4 separate regions of the Homo sapiens genome follow, and regions 1, 2 and 4 are each linked to region 3. Evidence: promoter capture Hi-C in human tissues and cell types (Jung and others, 2019). All regions are on one chromosome and are shown on one strand. Each heading gives the region's core, a stretch centred on a gene start or on the middle of the fragment in contact. The rest is flanking DNA. Distances are from core to core; before and after follow the strand shown. Region 1 overlaps RCAN1 (regulator of calcineurin 1). Region 2 overlaps LINC01426 (long intergenic non-protein coding RNA 1426). Region 3 holds the start of CBR1 (carbonyl reductase 1). Region 4 overlaps RUNX1 (RUNX family transcription factor 1).

Region 1 (2,826 bases), core at 270-2,769, 1.5 Mb before region 3:
ACTTGGATATTATCTCTGTCCACCCAAAGAGAGAACAACTGTGCCAACCTGGTTCATCAGGAAAATCTAGGTGTTCCCGTCAAGTGACTAAAATGTGGGCACACATCTTTGCACCGAGTATCTGATTCCTAAGAGCTGTTCCCTTTCCATCAGGCCTAGAATGGCCCAGTTAGTTTTCTCCTGGTGAACTGTAGCCCATTAACATTGACGGAAAATTAGTTGTTAATATTGAAAAATTGGGAGGTGTCACACAGAAATAGAACTTCTGACTTCTTTTTGGTGGTGGTGGCCCGGGGAGATGTGGCCACCCTGGGCCCAGAGCTCCATTTCACTGTGGCCGAGCAGATGCCCCTTGTTGGGGAACCCATGCTCTTCAAATACCCCAGGCCTCATCACTGTCTGTGGTCTACTCGCCCCTCCACCAATGATGGCTGCTGGCTGACCAGCCCCCAGGGCATTTCAATTTGTGGCTTAATTTGGTAATTCATCAAAAACAGATTAGTCACCTGCTAGGGCCAGCCATGGTGTGAGGTGCCAGGCGTACAGGCAGAGAAGTTTACCCAGCTCTGGGGCTCAAGCTGTTCTATGCCTAACAATTTACACCGAATTATACATGGAGAGGGCATGGCCCTCACTCCCACATGGTAATTGTGTGTGTGTGTGTGTGTGTACTTATTTTTTCATCTGGCCCATGTATGGGCACATCACATTCCTATGGGTGACTCCCTGGGCATCTGTGAAATGTTGTCTCCCACTCCTGAAATTATGCTGTAAATGCCAGGGAATGGTGGTGACATGGTTATAGCGACGATCTTGATTCTGCTCAAACATAAACCACAGTTGGTTTCTTTAGCAATTATTAAGAAATGATTGGGCCATGTCAGAGGAAGACAGAGGAAGAATCTGAACTGTAATTCACTTACAGATTTCTACAGAATTAGCTCATGATTCATGGAGGCAAAAAAAGTTTTGTCAGGAATGGCATTCGAAGACACAGAAAAACAATTTGAAAGGAGCCTGAGGTCCAGGTGTTTTCAGAGTGTGGTCTTTAAGATAGTTTCTTAAAAGATCATTCGGAGAAGAGAGCATTTTAAACTGCTCTTGTACAAATCTATGGTACATTTTATTCCTTATGTTGAAAATGATGGGAAGATTGTGCCTGTTTCACCCATTTAAGAAACGCTCCCTGTTGGTCCAAGCCACCGTGGGCTCCTCCATCCTGAGGGAGGACACAGTGGCTCTACTGTCCTCTGTAGAGGTGAAATTATGTGGCACATACTGTGATCAACCACAGCTACTGCCAACTCCCCAGCCAATTCCCCATCCACTCCCCGCCATGGGTACTGGCCGCTTCCAGACTCTAAGACAGAGGTTCTTGCGCAGGGGAGGTTATTAGGACGAGTGGTGGGGAGGGGAAAGGAAACTGGGCAGAGGGAGAGTGAAGCTACCAAGTGGTCCTAGTGGAAGCCTAGCCGACTCTACAGGGAGCTTTGAGGATGAGACGACCCTTATCGGAGCAGGAGGACCGGGCCTTGATACCCCCACGTTGGTCAGTTCTGGGAAGGGGCTACCCTGAGAAGGGGGTGGAACTTGGGCAAGGTGGCTTTGCTCTGCCCCAACAGGGCTGACTGTCAAGGGAGGCTGGGAGACAAATTCTATTTTTCTGAAGTGACCTGGGGTGTGTCACTGTGACCAGTGCACCGACCAGCTAACCGACCAACCCGCAAGGCCCAAGCTCAAGGAATTAGAAGGCTCCAGACTTGCACCCTAAGTTAATCATCTGAAGTCTCAGAAATGTGACAGCCTTTAAACTGAACACTACAAAAATGCTGCTTATTCCACTCCAAATCATTAGCTCATCATCCATGTAAGGAGCTTCAAGAAGAATATCGGTAAGATTAGCGGTAAATTCAAACAGTTTAAACTTTCAGTATAAACCGCATCAACTCAAATCCCGAATACTGACTCAACAATTTCACTCCTAGGAATTTATTCTAAAGAAATCCTCATGGCTGTGGGCAAACATTAGATGCAAATATGTTCCTGCAAGGCAAATAAAATATGCAAAAATATAGTTTTATGTAAATAAAATACATCAAGATCCGTGATCAGATAATATACATGCTAAATTCATTCAGTAGACTATAGAGCCACTCATAGTAAGGTGGTGAAAACTAATGACATGAAAAGATGTTCAAGACTTGCTGTTAGGAGAAAAAACCAGGTTACAAAGCAATGTTTATTGTTCTCATTTTGGTGAAAAGAAAGAATATGTGTGATAGTATTAGAAGACTCCTGTGTTTTTCTTCTTGATTATTTGGATTTGGATTATTTAGATTCTAGCATGAATTTCCACAATGAACACTTATTACTTTTATAATAACAAAAAAGCTTCTCCTTTCCCCTTCCCTCACTAGATGCTATATATCAATGGTCAAGGTAACCGTGGTTAACAGACACAATATGTAAGGGTAAAGGTTAGTTGGAGAGAAAATCGACTTTGCCTGTTTTTGTGTAGTGGTTTGGTATCACGGCTTTTAATATTTGCTCTGTATCTGTTATGCACAATCTCTAAACCTGCTCATTTTAACCCATTAACATTTTGGAGTGCTAGTTATTGAAAGAATCCTATTTCATACCTAGAAACAGGGATTTCACCAGAAAATACTGATTTTGTCTTTCTTTGATTACCTCTCCTGCCTGCCATCTTTATCTGGTGAAATTCTCATTTAATCAGTAGTGTTGGCTGAGCCATTCTCACTGGAGTCAGGGCTGTCTGAGTGCCAGGGGACACTCATCTGAATTGTTTCTTGTCACTGCCATGTC
Region 2 (2,893 bases), core at 59-2,558, 1.3 Mb before region 3:
GGCCAACATGGTGAAACCCTGTCTCTACTAAAAATACAAAAATTAGCTGGGTGTGATGGTAGGCACCTGTAATCTCAGCTACTCGGGAGGCTGAGGCAGGAGAATCACTTGAACCCGGGCAGGGAAGATTGCAGTGAGCTGAGATTGCACCGTTGCACTCCAGCCTAGGTGACAGAGTGAGGATCTGTCTCAAAAAAAAAAAATAATAATAAGTAACTGCATAGTAGGTTTGATTTTGCCTCTTGCCCTACAACACCTGAAGTATGCACTATCTGGCTCTTCACCAAAAAGGGCTACTGAGCTCTCCCTGGTCTAGGTGTTGGTGGAGAAAATGGATGGGTTCGGATGTATTTTGGAGTGAGAGCCAGTAGGACTTTAATTTTAATGCTGGCAGAACATAGACTATGCTGCAGGGTGGGACAGAGTCACTTGATCCCTAAGACAAGTCTAAGACTATGAGGGGCCATGGTCCACCACCGTCATAGCAGGTGTCTTTCTTCTTGGTGTATGAGCTTTCCAAGGAAGTGTTATGTCTAAATCAGATTCCAACATTCAAGGGCCCAACTGTATATGCGAAGGCAATGGAAGGTCTTATGCAGAGGAATAACAACAAAATATACCTGACCCAGGTTGTCCGGTGCCAGGTGGAGGATGGACCACCTGGGAACCAGAATGGTGGTGATGAGGCCCCCAACATGGCCTAGAGCAGCCCTCCCCATGGTCCCCTCTGGGTTGAGTCTCGGGCTCCTCCCATGCCCCAGCTGAGCCCATAGGTCTCCTGTGTACCAGCAGCCTGTTGACCAGAATAAGCAGTGCCTGGCACAGGCCCTGGAGGCTTCATGTTATAGCCCATAAACAACGCCGTATTTATTGACGGATGACTATCATTGTCAAGTTTCCAGCCACCACCCCACCTTCCATAGGACCAGCAGGCTGGCTCCTGGCTGGCACCAAGAGTGAGCGGCTTGGGCATTTAATCAGGTTCAGGTAACAGGTAAGGACTGGTTCCCCAGCTAGGGAAAAACACAGTGAATATTTTGGATTGAGCCATGTGTGCCGCATCTTGCTGGAGCTTGCAGGCCCCTTGGAGGCTCTCAGACGGCTCTTAATTAATTGCTGGAGCCAAGTGGGGCAATCTTGTGAGCGCTGTTGCTTTTGCTCATCTGATCCAGCCATGCTCAGGGGAGGGTGAGGAGCTGGCCTTGGATTTAGGGGATGAATGGGGTGGGCTGGGATATGGGAGGAGCTCAGTGGCCTGGCCAAGATGGTTGGGACAAAGCTTGGAATAGCCAACCTGTTTGTCAAGCAAATGGACAGGCCCTTTCTTCCAGGCAGAGAAAGACCTTGCTTCAGCTCCCTGGCTTGGGGAGGAGAGACCCAGATTCGAATCCTAGCTCTACTACTAACTAACTCTGGGACCATGGGGCAATTAGCTGCTTTAAGCTTCACTGTCTCATCTGTAAAATGCATGCAGTGATACTACCTCGAAGGATTGTGGTGGGAATCAAATGAGATGAGGGTAATGCCATGCACCATAGTCCCTGCAAGGCCACTGGGTCCCTGTAAGGCCACTGATCAGTGGGGCATGCCAACACTAGAGGCAGTGCTAACCCTAGGAGGCGGGGACAGCAGAAGAGATCTCAGGTGGGCCCATGTCCCTAAGGGGAGAACGAGCCCTGGGCACCAGGGACATCATGCAGTGAAGATGCTGGAGGTGGGAATGGGGTTTCAAGTGCCAGGGACCATCTCCTTAACTCCTCTGCACTCATGCATGCAGCTCCTGCAAGGCTTGGCAGAGCTCGGGCTGAAGAGGAAAGGCTCCTGCCTACCCAGCCATAGGTCCCCAGTGGATGCAAAGGGAACTTTTCCTTGGTCCTGGTCCTCAGTGGAACCCGTTTTGTTTCGATTGTCCCTGACCTGGCCTGTGCTCTCGCTGCACCATCCTGTGGAACACAGACACCTGGAGAGTCAGAGCTGGCTGGATCTTTGGAAGGGCACAGTCACAGCTGCACCCGCCACTCCTTCCCATCCCAGGCTCGATACTTCAGTAATCCTTGCTGCCTGAGCTTCCCTTATGGGTCCCAGGTCACACCTTCTTTCCTCCTATTCTGTTTGCTGAGATACCTTCTCTTCAAATCCTTCTCCTATAGAGAGGTTTCCATGAGCCGTGGGATGGGATGGGTGTGGCCCTCTTCTGGGATCCAGAGCTCCATGGAGAGCCCTCTGACTTGGTTCCTGACTCCTTCTGCAGACCTTGTCTCCATCTTGCTTCCCTCCTCCATCAGTCCTCTAGGCCTTGAGGACAGGCACTGAGTCTTACTGCAGTGTTGAGGCTCCAAGATGGCAGTGATCTCCCAATAAATATTTGCTAACCTCAGCTGATTTCTTTACTTTATGATGTAAGAATTGAAGCTACAAGAGGGTCTGTGACCTGCCTAAAGTCATATGCAAATTAACCAGATCTTGGCTCCAGTAGTCTACTTTGACTCGAGTGCTGTTTCCCTTAAATCATGCAGCTTGTCAGGTCAGGTCAAGCATAGCCTGGATCTCACCACATTCTTACGGGATTGAAGGATGTAATATTAATGACTCAGTAGGCTTGGAATCAGCCAATCAGCAAGTGCTCCTTGAACCCCTTGATATGGAAGGTACAGGTAGAGAAGGTAGTAATTTTTCACAAGTCTCAAACTCAGCTATGTAGAAATATAGATTTGGTTTTCTTCCCTTATTTTTAATAGATTATACAATCATATTACATAAAAGCAAAACCAATACAAAAAAGCTACAACTTTTTACGTCTTATTTATATTTTCTTAGATTTTATGAATCTTTGAAAAATATAACCAAAGTGAATATATGTTCTTAATTTTCCCTTTTTGCATAAAGCCTATTG
Region 3 (3,023 bases), core at 24-2,523:
AGGCTGGTCTTGAACTCCTGACCTCATGATCCACCCACCTCAGCCTCCCAAAGTGCTGAGATTACAGGCGTGAGCCACCGCGCCAGGCCTGGTCTCTTTTGAATAAACAAATTGACCCTCCCAGTCTAAAAACTTGAGAAATTTACATTTGTCTTATCTGAGTTCCTTTCTCAGGGAACTAGCCATCAGTCCTCCCAGATAGCACCAAGGAACTGAAACTTATCGGATCACCACATCTGGAAAATCAGACACCAGACCCCTCACCTGCAACAATTGCCTGATGCCTGTTGACCCACTCCTCTTCATCTCTCCCTAACTCCTGCTATTTTCCCACATGCAGTTACATTTCTTCCCTGCTATATCCTAATTTTAATCAGTTGAGAAGATGGATTTGAGACTGATCTCTCCCCCCTAGGCTGTAGCACCCAAATAATGCCTTCTTCCCTGACAATAATGGGGTCTCAGTGACTGGCTTTCTGTGCTGTGAACCACCAGACCTAGACCAAACTCCTGGCATTTCTCTAACAATTTCCCACCACTGAACTAAGTTATAAATTCTGAGGATGGATCCCTGTTTCTTCATTTTAAGATGGGGATTAAAAGGTACATCCTAGAGTGTTATTGTCCGTGTAAAATAGGGCTGTGAAACCCCCTACACCTATGCACAGATAAACTGATGGCCCTGCAAATGCCCAGAGAAGTAACCTTATAAAGATTTAGTGAATGTTTCCCACCATTATTGGAAAATCTGGCTAAGTCAGTAGCTTTGTTTTCATATACTTAGGGGGAAAATCAACAAAAACTTGATGCCCTGTTATTTCCTTCCAGTTTCTTCTGCAACTCTAGCTCCAAAGACTGCAGTTCCTGCAGTATTTTTTTTTTTAGAACACCAGGAAAAAAAGAAAAAAAAACCATGCAAATGTACTATTTCTTCAAACACAACTAGGAATGATTGAACAGCTGGGAGAATATGAAGAAAACCCCTCAGAGAACCAAGGGCAAGCAGTGAGTTCAGATCTAGGCACATGGCCACTAGGAATGGTTCTTCACTGCCACGTGGGCAGCCAACAGCCAGTAGCTAGAGACCAGCCTCGGTCTTCGGCCTGCGGGTTCTGCAAAGTCAGGCTAGCTGGCTCTCCGCCTGCTCCGCACCCCGGCGAGGTTCCGGTGGGGAGGGGTAGGGATGGTTCAGCCCCGCCCCGCTAGGGCGGGGCCTGCGCCTGCGCGCTCAGCGGCCGGGCGTGTAACCCACGGGTGCGCGCCCACGACCGCCAGACTCGAGCAGTCTCTGGAACACGCTGCGGGGCTCCCGGGCCTGAGCCAGGTCTGTTCTCCACGCAGGTGTTCCGCGCGCCCCGTTCAGCCATGTCGTCCGGCATCCATGTAGCGCTGGTGACTGGAGGCAACAAGGGCATCGGCTTGGCCATCGTGCGCGACCTGTGCCGGCTGTTCTCGGGGGACGTGGTGCTCACGGCGCGGGACGTGACGCGGGGCCAGGCGGCCGTACAGCAGCTGCAGGCGGAGGGCCTGAGCCCGCGCTTCCACCAGCTGGACATCGACGATCTGCAGAGCATCCGCGCCCTGCGCGACTTCCTGCGCAAGGAGTACGGGGGCCTGGACGTGCTGGTCAACAACGCGGGCATCGCCTTCAAGGGTATGGGGAGGGGACGTGGCCTCCCCGAAGAAGAACCGATGCACTGGGGCTCCTGGCGTCTGCGGGGTCCATAACGCCTCCCTAGGGAGGAGAGGGAGGAGCTAGGAGATGCAGGGAGTGCAGAAACCTTGGAGAAAGTGAGAGTTTTCCAGCCAAAGGGAACTTTGTGTTTCCCTGGCTGGGACTCTTGGGGATCTTTTTCAGGTTTTCTGCAGTTTTTCTGAATTGAGCTTTAAGGCAACTGGATGGATTTTGAACTGATTTTAAAATAAACGACAAATTGCAAAAAGAAAAAATGGTTATGCCAAGATCCAGTGTGTGCACCCTTCATCCTCCTTCCCCCAATGGTGCCATCTTACAAAAATACTAGAACATGATCAAACCAGGAGATTGACATTGGCACAATACTGTAACCAGATACAGACTTACTTTAGGCAGAGGGCACTAAGTTTTTTTTTTTTTTTTTTTTTTTTTTTAGTATCATTGTATAGAATTTTACCCCATGGGTACAATGTATTAACTATGTTCTCTTTCTCTCCTAAAAGTTGCTGATCCCACACCCTTTCATATTCAAGCTGAAGTGACGATGAAAACAAATTTCTTTGGTACCCGAGATGTGTGCACAGAATTACTCCCTCTAATAAAACCCCAAGGTGAGTCTGATGGGAAACAGCGCACCTTCTCTTTGGGGCTTGATTTGGCCCCTGCTTGCCTGGGATTTCTCCTGCAGGCTCCTGCTTCCTCTCCATGCTGCACGTGCACTGACCTCTGTGCTTTTTCTCCTGCCAGCTGATATGTGCCATTTTGCCTCAGGACTTTGTCCTCACTTCTCCCACTCCCATGGCCATTCGTCCTCCCTGTCGCACTGGTCTTTGCACACCTGGCTGACTCTCATCCTTCAGGTCTTAGCTCAAACGTCTCCTGAGAGATGCTCTTTATTTGCTCCATTCCCCTCTGCGTGGGAGTCCATCCTGTACCCTTTCTCTGCTCTTTCAGAGAGATCTTATTCAGGCTGGTGGAGGCTTTACTACCACCAGTTCATTAGGCCCTTCTAATACCTGTCACCTGTCTGAAACACTCCTTAAGCTCCCAACCACATGGTTGTCTTGCTGCCTTTCCATCTCTTCCTGATGCCTTTCCCCACAATCTAAGATATTTCCAGAGGATCCCTATCCTTTTCCCTAAGTCGTTTGGGACACAGACCCCACCACCCACCCACCAGGATCCTGCAGGTCACCATGCCCCACCCCTCATAATCATTTACTAGGTCCTAGGAGTTGTGCCCACTGAGTTCCTCCTGAATCCGTCTCATTGCAGCTCTACAGCAGGCCCTCACCTGTCCCTCTGGACAATTGCAAACCCTCACAAG
Region 4 (2,925 bases), core at 146-2,645, 1.3 Mb before region 3:
TATTTCTTTTAAAAAACTCCCAACCACTACCCAAGCCTGATTCCTGCAATGTACAGCAATGAAGGCAGATGAAGCTTCCTGGCCTTAGGTTGAACATACAGCCCTTTCCACTTTGGGTTGGCTAGTGTCATGTAACTCTTTTTAGTTTCTTTATTATTATTATTATTTTTGAGATGGAGTCTCGCTCTGTCGCCCAGGCTAGAGTGCAGTGGCGCGATCTCGGCTCACTGCAACTTCCGCCTCCCGGGTTCACGCCATTCTTCTGCCTCAGCCTCCTGAGTAGTTGGGACTACAGCCGCCACCACGCCAGGCTAATTTTTTATATTTTTAGTAGAGACAGAGTTTCACCGTGTTAGCCAGGATGGTCGCGATCTCCTGACCTCATGATCCGCCCGCCTCGGCCTCCCAACGTGCTGGGATTACAGGCGTGAGCCACCGCGCCGGCCTATTATTATTTTTTAAAACAAGCATTAAAACATGCTTCAGTGCTCTTTCATATGCAAAGAAGCAACCCTGGGAGCCTGCGCCTTTTCCAGGCCCTCATGCCTTCAGAAGCCAGAGTGTGCTAGGAGCACCGGGGGTGAGGACATAGCTTCAGCCTGAAGCTGTTCACTGGAGGTATCTTCCTAGTGTGTGCAGTGGGCCTTACTCAGTTTCCCAACCCTCCATCTCAGAGAAAGACAAAACCAATTGGATATGGTGTATGTACTTGTCAAACTGTTTATTTGCCATTCACACTGATTGTAACACTGGATTTACAGAAGAAACTGTGGTACAAAGAGAGGAAGGCTCTGGTGGCTCCTGAACAGCAGCAGTCCAGCTGCCCTGCTCAGGCTGGGCACGACGAATGCTCCCAGGAGAGGGGAGGCGGCCCACCCGACTGTGTACCGTGGACTGTGGACAGTGCAGTGCCTGCTCTCCTGTGCTATCTAGAAACACCTTGGAGAGAGGGTTCTGGGATATTCTCTCATGTCATCTGGCTGAAGACACCAGCTTGACAGTTCCCCTTTAAGAAGCATTCCATACGTTTGTACCAGGGAGAAAGAAGCCCACGCACGAATTTTCAGGATGTTTTGTGACCAAACCCAATAACTGCCACACAAATAGACCCTAGGTGGGGGCTGGCTTAAATAGGACCACATTTCCCGTTGCTTTTTCAGTAGATGTGTTATACCGTCATTTCAATTTGAAAGTTTATTTTTTTCCATTGATTTTTATACATCCAGAATAACACAAATAACCAACAGTTCTTTTTCTTTTTTTGCACATTCATTTCCCCTAGAACAAAAAAAGTGAACTTAAAAAAAATTGGAACCATGCTATTAGCTGTTTACAAAAGTGAATAAGAAGTAGCTCATTTTAAAGTCTAAAATAAACAAAGTAGAAAGAAGCATTTTTTTCCCTACAGTATTTAGCAAACCTAAGAAAAAGTCCTTAGAAACACACACAAAAAAATTGAAAAAAAGTTATAGGCATTAACAATATTTTATAATGAAGCTTAAAATCTATTTACATACATAAATACAATTAACTTTGTTGATGCAACTCTTCTGGAAGGAAAAAAAGAGCCAAATGATCAGCCTCATCAATACTGACCTGGCTAAAAACAAAATTCCCAACAAACACACAAAAATCCCAAAACAAATGTATACGCTACGGTAAACAAAAAGGCATTTTGTTCAGATGTAAAATATGTTTTGTGAGATTATTGTCAAACAAATTTTCATGTATAAAAGACCCAAACATGTCATTCCCCCCAAAAATAAAAACCAACAAAAATAAAAATCATCAGGACGGAATGTCCCAAAGAAACAGGTATTTCAAGGCAGAAATCTGCAATCCTAAATTGCAGGACATTTGAGTGGAACCATTCATTTCCTTTCTAATCAGAGCATTTCTGTTTATCTGCACAGAAACCCAAGGCAGCAGAAAGGCTGTCTATTTACTCACTGATTGTGATTTGCCCAGGAAAGTTTGCTGGTTTGGACAGCAAGCAGATCCAATATGGTTGGCAATGTCTCTGTTCTGCTGGAAGAAACCCATAAACAGGAGAAAGGCTGACAAACCATGTTCCTTTATGTGAAGGGGGAAGAACTGGACCTTCTTGTGTTCTGAAATTTGGTACTGGGTGGGGGTATGTGCTATCTGCTTAAGAGAACACAGGAAAAGGAGGAGGGAGAAAGTGGGGTTTGGAAGATAGAGGAAGAGAGAAAAAAAGGGAGATATTGGGGGGAAGAGAGGGAGGGAAATGTATTTTCAGATAGTGAGAAAAAGAAAGAACTGAAATATGTATCCATGTTGAAATCATAAATAGGGACATGAGTAAGCAGTAGAAATGGCTTATTCAATACTTCTCCTGGACCAGACACATGCAGTTATTACATGATTGGCTTAAGGGTCTCATTGATACCTTAACTTTCCTGAGGGCAATGAATAAAAAGATACCTTAATCTACCTGAAGTCAATGAATGCAATTTTTCACACACACACACACACACGCACACACACACACATACAAAAATGTGTTGCGTGAGACCTATCGCCAAAACAACTACAGTTTGATTTTTTTTGAAACAATTAAATACTATATATGCTGGTAAGAGTCTGTGAAACTCTAAATGACCAATCCAGTGAGCCTACAATAGTGACAAGCCCCCTCCACACATGGCTTTGAGAGTAAAGGTTCAATGTAAAAGATTATCTAATCAGAGCATGAGGCTGGTTTTGAGTTGGAATATCTTCAGTTAACAGAATTAAACTGAAAAACATAATTTTTTCCTTCATTTTTCTCCAGCATTTTTGCAGGTCAGACATGGTAACATGTGCTGAAAAAAAACATTTACGTTTAATTTGGGGGAAATGGGCTAATGGTGCTTTTCAGAAATTAAATTTTTACATTTGCTGACATTTTATGGTAATTTAGCT

The links. Contacts are between HindIII fragments. The study calls those that stand out against the background at their distance.
Region 1: a fragment that was not itself captured here is called in contact with the fragment with the promoter of CBR1 in region 3 in 1 of the 25 tissues and cell types used here (dorsolateral prefrontal cortex).
Region 2: a fragment that was not itself captured here is called in contact with the fragment with the promoter of CBR1 in region 3 in 1 of the 25 tissues and cell types used here (lymphoblastoid cells).
Region 4: a fragment that was not itself captured here is called in contact with the fragment with the promoter of CBR1 in region 3 in 1 of the 25 tissues and cell types used here (lymphoblastoid cells).

What each region holds. Positions count from the first base shown.
Region 1 is chr21:34,537,178-34,540,003 of GRCh38, forward strand. The region is part of intron 1 of RCAN1 (regulator of calcineurin 1); the gene reads right to left. Among named protein-coding and RNA genes, the nearest start is that of KCNE1, 26 kb to the left of the region's middle. The HindIII fragment of the contact is 3,284 bases long and covers 1-2,826 here.
Region 2 is chr21:34,759,584-34,762,476 of GRCh38, forward strand. All of the region lies in intron 1 of LINC01426 (long intergenic non-protein coding RNA 1426), which reads left to right. Among named protein-coding and RNA genes, the nearest start is that of LINC01426, 15 kb to the left of the region's middle. The HindIII fragment of the contact is 3,510 bases long and covers 1-2,893 here.
Region 3 is chr21:36,068,751-36,071,773 of GRCh38, forward strand. CBR1 (carbonyl reductase 1) reads left to right here and starts at 1,274. Exons shown (of 3, transcript NM_001757.4): 1 at 1,274-1,654; 2 at 2,200-2,307. The coding sequence starts at 1,366. It overlaps CBR1-AS1 (CBR1 antisense RNA 1), which reads right to left. Exons shown (of 4, transcript NR_040084.1): 4 at 892-1,735. RefSeq lists an enhancer at 1,330-1,579. The HindIII fragment of the contact is 9,879 bases long and covers 1-3,023 here.
Region 4 is chr21:34,787,106-34,790,030 of GRCh38, forward strand. RUNX1 (RUNX family transcription factor 1) reads right to left here. Exons shown (of 9, transcript NM_001754.5): 9 at 696-2,925. Among named protein-coding and RNA genes, the nearest start is that of LINC01426, 43 kb to the left of the region's middle. The HindIII fragment of the contact is 6,144 bases long and covers 1-2,925 here.